2 separate regions of the Homo sapiens genome follow, and region 1 is linked to region 2. The links are contacts of gene promoters, found by promoter capture Hi-C in human tissues and cell types (Jung and others, 2019). All regions are on one chromosome and are shown on one strand. The core of a region is centred on a gene start or on the middle of the fragment in contact, and the rest is flanking DNA. Distances in the headings are between cores, read along the strand shown.

Region 1 (4,746 bases), core at 1,918-4,417, 170 kb before region 2:
AACTCCTGGCTCCCGCGGGCCTTCCCTGTCCTGCCGCCCTCATGCCCCATGTGGATCCACAGGTGGAGGCAGGTGTGGCAGGCAGTTAGTCTGAGTCCTTGACTAGGGTCCCACCTCTATAAAATCTGGTGCCAGCAAGAGTAAGGGAGTGGACATGGGAAGGGCCCTAAATGGATAGTGACCCCAGTTAGTGGCCCAAGGCCAGCCTCCCCCGCCCCACCCTGCCTGTCACTCTGAGCTATTGTTCCAAAAGCTGGGCAGAAAATAACTCACTGGGGGAATTATTTTCATCTCTGTTAAACTTCAATCCTGGGCTACTGACCAGCCTAGCTGCAGAATTATTTTTCAGGTCAGGGGGAGTTCTGGAAAAAGTAAGGGCAGGGGAGTGAAGGGAAGCAGGAGGCATCTCACCCAGGGGCGGAGACGGACCACCGCTGCTGACATCCTCCCTAGGATGCTACCTGTCTGCAGCCCACCTGGCAGCAACTCCAGCTGAACAAGTGGGGCCCAGCCCAGTCAGAGGAAATGGGGTTTCACCCACAAGTCTTTTAATTGAATCTAGGTTCTGAGCTAGTCCATCAGATTCCTTCTTGAGGGATGTTTGCCTCTGCCAGAAAGAGTATTGAGTGCAGAGAGTGGAACTTCTGCCAGCTGGTTCAGACATCCGGTGGGCAGCAGGCCTGGCTCAGGGCAGCTGGGGGGCTGCAGACAGCTAACCACCAGGAGGGAAAGAAGTTGCTCCTCTAGGGACCCTGAGTTTAGCTCCTCCTCTGTCCTGGGGCAGCATTTATGGAAAGTACCCTGTGGTTTAAATCTGTTCTGTCTTTGCCCCCTGGCTACCAAAGAAAAACAAAGAAGAGGGAGATGACAAATGGGTAGGGCTGGGGAAGGGGAATCATAGCTTGGTGAGGGTTCAAGGCTTAGAACAGAGACAGCTGTTTCCTACCACTTTGTGGCCCTGGGGAAGAAAACTCCAGACAGATTCTGATATTTGGCCTGAAACGTTGAACCAAGAGGGTTATCTTCAATTATAGCTCTGAGGGTAAGGCAAGGCTTGTGTCATGTTGGCCAGCAGTGAGTTTGGACAGCCAGACTCAGGATATGGACTGGCATGTGCCTATCTGCATGTGAGGTGCTCCACACACGTCTGTGGTGAGTGTTGTTTGTGAGCATCGTGTATTTTGCCTGATGCCCTTCCTTAGACAATTCCTGGCAATGAGCAAGTGACCTTGTTGACCAGAACAGAGTAGGCTGAGTGGGCTGAGTGGACTGGTGGAGGCAGGTTTGGGGATCCTGCGGCTGTGGGCAACTCACCTCTCTCTGCGCCCATCAACCATATCTGACCACCCTGGACAGACTGAGGAATTAAGTAAGGATTGCACTGGTGATATGGCAGCTGAGTTGTTCACTAACCTCCCTTCCATCTGCCCTTATTGAATCATTTGTTCTTTCTTTTGATTTTCTCCCACAAAACCTTTTTTTTTTCTATTCAGCTAGGCTGAATTTTTCAGGTCTCTCCTTTACCTCTCCCTTCTAGCTCGACTACTGATGGTCCTATTCTTCTCAGGGTTAAGGATCTCCCTGAAGGACTGTGGGGGACAGTGGCTTTGTGTGTACCCAGGCTGGGACTTCAGCTGTGCTGCAGAAGAGGCCTGTGCATAGCTAACGTCTCAATGAAACAATGAGAGAGGCCCTGTTGTCACAACACTCAAGGTGGATTCAGGTTGGAATGGGGATCTGAATGGGGTCTGAAACTCTTCAGTTTCAATAAATCGTGGCAATAATTAAAAATTCCTGATATTCAAGACTCACTGGGTTTAACTTGAAGAAGCAGAGAAAAGAGTGGAATGTACTTCCTACAGGCCTTTGACATGAGTGTGGCCAGTTATTACGTCTCTTCCTGGCACCCTCTCCCTCTCTCCAGCCACATTGAATGAGTTTCTCTGTCCCAAACATGTTCTTTCCCTTTCGCTCTCAGCTTTTGCATGTGCAGTATCCTCTGCCTGGAGTGCTCCTTACGCCTCTTACCACACCACATTAAACTCCTCTGCTCCTTCCTGTCTCCGTGGAGAGGTTGAGAGGGGACAGCCTCCAAAGAGCCTTCTCTTCTCTTTTCTCACCAAGATGAGGCAGAGGCTCTTGCATATGCTCCCTCTAGACCTGGCACTTACCTGGATCGTAGGATGTGTCGTACTGAATTGGAGGTTCCTGTTTGTCCCCCATCCCCACCCCCCAACCCGCGGTAGACTGTAAGCTCCTAGAGGACAGGGTCTATGTCTTGCTCACCACTGTGTCTCTCACTTCCAGTACAGGCCTTTCCATGTGGCTGGCACTTAAACATAGGCAGGGACCCTATCAGAGATAAGGCAGCAGAGGCCAGAGTCAATGTCCACCACAGTGTGAGGCCAAGAAGAAATGCCGCCACATCCTATCCCTGGCCCTCCAGGGGTGTCCTGAAGAGGGACCCTACCCAGAAGGATGGCCAGAAGCCTGACCAAACAGCTCTGGAAAAGCTTGTTAGGGGGAAGTCATTCTAATCAGAAATGGAGGAGCAGCCGATGTCACCTTGGGGTGACTGCTGCTGCCCTTGAAAGTGAGTGGGAACTTCCTACGTGGCCCAGGTCCTGAGAAGCTGCATGAACACAGTACAGGGGAAGTGTCCACCCTCACTAATAACCTAGAAGATGGAGACGGTACGTTTGGGCAAATCAGCCGTGCATGGGACCGGAGCTGCCTGGTGGAGAGTTAGCCCAGCCCTGCCCATCTCAGAGGACCCTGGGGATCCTTCCCTGATTCTGACACAGGCTTCAGAATCTATCCCAGGATAAGTGAATGGCCTTCCCAGGCCTTCAAGAGCTGGGGCAGCCAGAAGTCCAGGCCCACTGAGCCAGAGCCCACCCCATGTCTAGGTGAAGGGGCATGGCAGGGCCATTCTTCTGCCAGGGCTTCCACGGTTCTCGCTGCCACCTCCTGACTCCAGCCCCTCGGCACCCACCTCAGCCTTCTCCTGAGTTCTGCTTTCTGCTTCAGGTGGTGGTGGGTGGGGGTGGGTGGTGGTGGTGCCGCTGCCCTGGTAACAGACAGCGGGGCATCGGCATCCTGGAGGTAGTCAAGCTTCAGGTCCCACTAGAGTGAGAACAGATGCAGGTACAGGATCAGCACTTGATGATGGGGGAGGTGGGGGATGGAGGTGACACTGGATGAGAAGGGACAGGAAGGATGATGGCTGTAAGGGTGGTAATCAGTGACAACTTGGGAGCCACAGGCTTTATGTTTTACGTGGAGGAAAAGTCCAGATTTGTAGCTCAGCTTCTCTGACTGTTAGGAGAGAGATTAGAACAACTCATTTCTCCTCACCCCAAGAAGTTTTGAAAGAGTTTTAGAAGCCACAGACAGTGGGTGGGGTGGTCAGTTTTTTTCCCAGCTCAGCAAAATTGTGGCTTTCTGGGCAACGTTTGTTTGGGGTGGAGCTTTTGGGACTGAGAAGCAGGCATCCTGCCCTTCACAGCACCTCTCTCGGGCCTGAAGTTCTTCTCATTTTCCTGGATTCTCCATTGATTATACTAAAGCCAGGTACAGTTATAATAATAATAGTTAACACATAAAGCTTATGGTGTGCCAGGCACCCTTCTGAGGGCTACTCAGAGATCAGCTCGTTTGATCCCCACACAAGAACTGAGACTCAGGTATTATCATGTCCCTGTTTGTAGATAAGGAGACAGGAATGGGCTCTGGGGGCATCTGAACAGTGGTCAGGTGGCCAGGGGCATCAGGCTGGCCCAGGTAGCTGGACAAAGGCAAGGGGTCTGATCCCAAGGATCCCAAATATCTCAGAGCTGGTAGGACCTGGGGTTTGAATACTGACCTTTGACACAATGCGGAAGAGTCTACGTGACTCAGAGATCACGTTGGTCCCAGAAGGAAAATAAGGAAAATAAGCCTGGCCACCCTGGATAGGGGTAGGTTGTTGGGCCTCAAAGAGGTTTGCCTGAGCAAGAGTGGCTCAGGCCTGGGCAGGCCACTGTCCCCAGGAGCACCCTCCCTGCCCATCGCGTCCCTCTGCCCCTCCCTCCTGCACATGTCACACTGACCACATCTGTAGACATCTTGAGTTGTAGCTGCAGATGGGGACCAGTGGCTCCCATTTTCATTTTAGCCATTTTGTCTCCTGCACCCACTCCCTTCATACAATCTAGTCAGAATAGCACTTCTAGGGCACACGTTCTCAGTCCAAGCTGTGGGAAAGCTCCCCTTATCCAAGAGAGTTTAAAGGTAGTGACTTGGGTTTTTGCGAGTGTTTTGTTTAGTAAGGACTTGTGGGGAGGAACCGTGCTAAGCCATAACCAATGAGGAGAAGCAAGACAGCCTGTCTGCCCCCAGGAGCCAGTCCTCTGCTCTTCTGCAGTCAGGCCACTGCCTTGGGGCTCTAGTCATTCCAGTGGAAGATGAATGTAACCTGCCTGGTGACGTGACAACCGTTTCCTCCCTGACCCCAGAGGAGCTGGCTCTAGAAGGTTGGGATCAATCCTGAATTTAGTTTATGTGTTAGATTTATATATATATATATATATAAAATATATATTACATACATAATATATATAAAATACATATTACATATATGTAAAATACAAAACAATAACCTTTCTGGGGTTTCTCGTGGCAGTTGAAATAGTCCCTCATGTGGTCGTCAGAAAATAAGCCATTCCTCATACTAATATGGGATAAGCTCCTTGACCTCTGAGGAGC
Region 2 (4,067 bases), core at 23-2,522:
CCTTGCAAAGTTTGCTTGCCCTAGGCTTGTCCTTCTCTCTACCCCTGAGTCCCTATGTTTGGACTCCTCTCTACACAGCAACAGGCTGGGGGATTCTCTTTAACCCACCAGCAACTGTTCAACCTGGCGCATGGGCAGGAAAACTCGAGATTAAAGTCTGAGAACCTGGAAGGGATTGTCAGATCCAACCCCATCATTTCAGATGAGAAAGCTGAAGACCAGCGAGAGGAAGAAACTTCTCCTGTTAAAGCACACTGGATGAAGACGTGCTCCACTCCCAACCTCCAGAAAAAAATCACTGATAGAGTGGCCTCCACTGTTCACCAATTTTGCCTTTTTATATGATAGTTTTCTTTCCTGAGAGGGTTGAGAATCCCCATGCAGTGCTCTTTCTGGCAAGGGCATCATACTTGGCAGATTTTACCTTTATTATCGGGGAAAACTGGACAGTCACGGGGAGCTGCTCCCCTTCTTTTGGACTTGGAAACAAAAGAACCTCACTGGGGAGGAGTTCCTGAGGAGAGGAGTGTAAGTTGGGGTGAAGGGAGTGAAACCCTGGGCTCCCAGGGGAAGAAGAGTGGGCCTTCGGCTGCCTTTAAGAGGCCTCTTGCCCCTCCCCTGCCTCATAAGGAATCTGAAACGTTTAAACCCCAGAGGCTGACTCAGTAAGAGTCATTTGCATAATATTTTAGAGTGATTTAGCCATGCGCTCGACATGTGGCTGATTTAGCTATGCTGGGCTTGGTGGTCATAAGAATAGCACTGGTTCTGACCGACACATCCTCTATCTCTCTGTCCAATGACCCCAACCCTTGCTTGGGCACTTACTGTTTGTCAAATTTGGACCAATCACCTTACTGTGTGCCAGTGTCATGCTAAGCTCCAGGAATTTGAAGATGAATCCAACCTGTGGCCCCTTGGAAAGTCAGGTCTGAGACTTGGAAGTAGGTGTCTGTTTGGTGGGGATCACCCAAAGATCAGCCCATGGGTGTCCCTAATTTGGACAAAGAACCCTCCAAACTGGACCCATCTTGGTGTGCCTGCCTGCATGACCTATTTTTTAAGCTGCAAACAGCTAGCATTACCTGTTCTCAACATCTGGCATTACCTACCTTCTTAGTCACCTTCCCTCAGGCTTCAAACAGCTGTAGGGCCCCACCTCCTATCCATCTAGGGTCCCTCCCTCCCCTTTTTCTTCCTGAAAGGATCTGGAGACACCAGCTCCACAAGTCCTGGTGTCTTTAAAAGGATCAGCTTGAGGAATAAGGCTCGTCTGAGAGCTGTGACATTCATCTGACTCTAGTGAAAGTCCAACAGCCACTCCCTTTTTGGCCTCCAACTGGGCACCATGAGGGCCTGCATCTCCCTGGTATTGGCCGTGCTGTGTGGCCTGGCCTGGGCTGGTAAGTCACTATCTGGCGGGCATGGGATTGCTGGTGGGGCGGGATCTTGCCTAAAGAAGCAGAGAGTTGGAGAACTTGGTAGAGGGCAGGGCCGTGGGACAAGGGAGGGTGAGCTCTGTCCTAAAGCCGCAGAGCACTTTTGGGTTGTCCTTGTCTGAGGGTGCAGGCGTTGGTCCCGGAATGGACTGGACTATGTGGAGAGAGTTGCAGGGCTGATGGTCTGATTTCATGGAATTCCCTTCTTGACACCTTGGAGGATCAGCCCCAAATATCCCTTAGTCCAGCCTGACTTTTGATCTCCCCAAGATTTTGTTGTCTGGGGCCACTGTAAGGAATAAAGCTAGGGCTGGTGTCCATGGGGTCTGAGTGGCCTGGCTGCCCTTGGTCACTCCTTCCACTGCCTGGTGACAGGTGAGGTTGTTTAGGGTGTGATGTTACTTTGGGTAGAGCCTTAGGAGGTGGGCAGGCTTAGGAGGAAACTGAAAGGACCTTTGACCAGGAGGTGGGCCTCGTCCTATCTGGGGCTGTACAGGGGTCAGAGGAATGGATCTCTGTTGCAGTGTTAGGAGAATTGAAGAATACAGAAGGGACCTGGCCCACAGTTATGAGAGGTCCAGGGGATGGGACTGGCAGAGGAACAGGACCATGTTCCTGTTTAGTAACTGTGCAAAATGCTGGTGCTGATGGGTTAATTGGTAGCTAGTGGGTGGGTGGGAAGGAGTGCCAAGGGAGGGGCTGAGCTGAGGAGTGTGGGGAGAATCCTCCTCTGCCCACAGGAGAAAGAATCCTTCCACTGGGTTGCTCCTGTGTAGGACTGTGGAAAGGATTAAATGAAATAATGTATGAGAAGCACCTGGTGCAAAGTGAGATCTCAGTGAACTGGAAATTCGCTATGATTATGACTATAAATTTTCTTGGGAGAAACTTCCGCTTGGGGTCATTTCCAACTGGGTTGTGGAAAGGAGACCCTTATGGGATTTCTAAGTGGAAAACCCCTGGAAGAGGAAGTTGTGCCTCCCAACCATGGATGAGATAGTGCATCTTACCAGAAACCAGCTCTGCCTGGGCCCTAGTGGGTGGAGAGGCAGTGGGAGAGCATGAGGGTGGGCCTGGGAGCCACCAGCCTCAGCCCTGTTGGTTGGGAGGAAGGTGGAACTTGGGGGCTTAATGTGTAGGGGTGGCCAGCGGGCTTGGCATATTCCAGCCTTAGGGAAGGAGAGCAACTCTGGATATTTGGTCCCTGGGGGGCAGAGGTAGCAGTGGCTTTAGAAGTGCAGGTGGAGCTCTTGCTGCTAGGTCGGAGGGCAGTATCTGCTTTGGCTGTGGGATCGATGGGGAAGTGAGGTCAAGTGTATGAGGCTTCCTAAGGTGGCAGGGAAGAGGCTCTGCACTTGTTGATACTATCCCAACATCTCAGAACTGAGAGGCAAGAATATGAATCACATGGGGAATCACTGACAGCCTCAGGTCCTCCTTTATGAGCTGGATGTCTGTGGAGAACCTTGGTTGATTTTTTTGGTTGTGAATGGAGGCAGGAAGCTAGTCCAAGGGGTGAGGCTTCTTGGTTGACTAGGTCTCCATGGAAACAGCATCTGGGGCCTTCTAACGGTACAGATGTGTAGGATGTCCCAGTCATCAGAGGGGCTGAGCACCAGTGTACAGGGACACTGTGTCCACCCAGGCTTGGGACCAAGCTTCCTTGATGGCCAGTATGGATAGGGAGTGGCTGTTCTGGCATATTGAAGTCTTAGAAAGTGCAGAGAAATTGAGCATTTCTTGGGGGAATGGAGGGAGAATCTGAACCCGAGAGAGGAAAGGCTCAGATGAAGAAAGGCAGAGAGTCAGAGAGGTGAGGCAGAGGAACAAGAGGCACAGGTTACTACAGCAGTGATTCAGGCACCTGGCTTGGGGAGCAAGGCTTACTCAGAGTGTTGGTGTTAATGGTGCAGTGTGGGGATGCTGGAGTGAGTTGTTAGGGTGACTAGTTACTCATCAGAGTGTCCCCAGAATGTCACAGCAAAGTGCCTATGAGGAAAAGTTCCTCCCACCCCTGCACTCCACTGTCAAATCCCAAGGTCACCTTGAAGCAGACTAAGTGCACAGAGAAATGTGAGAAAGTGCTGGCATGGGGCTCTTGCTGGAGACAAAGTTCTTGAGCAGAGATGAAAAAGCCCACTCAGCTTGGGCCGGCGGGGGTGCTCTCCTGCACGTCCAGCTGACTGCTCGCTTGCAACCCTTCTCAACTGGTGCCAGCTGCTGGAATGAAGTGAATTCTTTCCCTGGACTCTGCTGATTTGGCCCATTAAAAACATTGCCCTGATTTGCCTGAATTCTCTCCCTTTGGATTCTGGGTGTACTGCCAGGCTGACTGAGCAGGGAGCTGATGGGCTGAAAATTTCTCCTTAAGGTCTTTGCATTCAGGCTCCAAGGGAGCATCATTTAACATTCAAGAGGAGTTCCTGCCGGCTTGAAGGAACAAGTGGCCTTGGGCCTGGTCTCTTTTAGGGACTGGAAACCTGCCTTCCTGCCCACCTTGGAGGCCTGACAATGTGAAGTTGTCTGAGGACCCGGGTTAACCTTGACCCAATGCCTCTCTGATGTAAAGAATACAGACCTGTAGTGATGAAGTCAGCCAGGAAACCAGCAACACAGATGTGCTGACAA

Evidence for each region. The method cuts DNA at HindIII sites, captures the fragments that hold promoters and counts their contacts. A contact is called where the count stands out against the background at its distance.
Region 1: a fragment that was not itself captured here is called in contact with the fragment with the promoter of ENDOU in region 2 in 1 of the 25 tissues and cell types used here (spleen).

Annotation. Positions count from the first base shown.
Region 1 is chr12:47,890,204-47,894,949 of GRCh38, reverse strand. All of the region lies in intron 1 of VDR (vitamin D receptor), which reads left to right. Among named protein-coding and RNA genes, the nearest start is that of VDR, 12 kb to the left of the region's middle. The HindIII fragment of the contact is 4,335 bases long and covers 1,000-4,746 here.
Region 2 is chr12:47,722,695-47,726,761 of GRCh38, reverse strand. It overlaps ENDOU (endonuclease, poly(U) specific), which reads left to right and starts at 1,272. Exons shown (of 10, transcript NM_001172439.2): 1 at 1,272-1,403. The coding sequence starts at 1,349. All of the region lies in intron 3 of RPAP3-DT (RPAP3 divergent transcript), which reads right to left. RefSeq lists a silencer at 638-757. The HindIII fragment of the contact is 12,082 bases long and covers 1-4,067 here.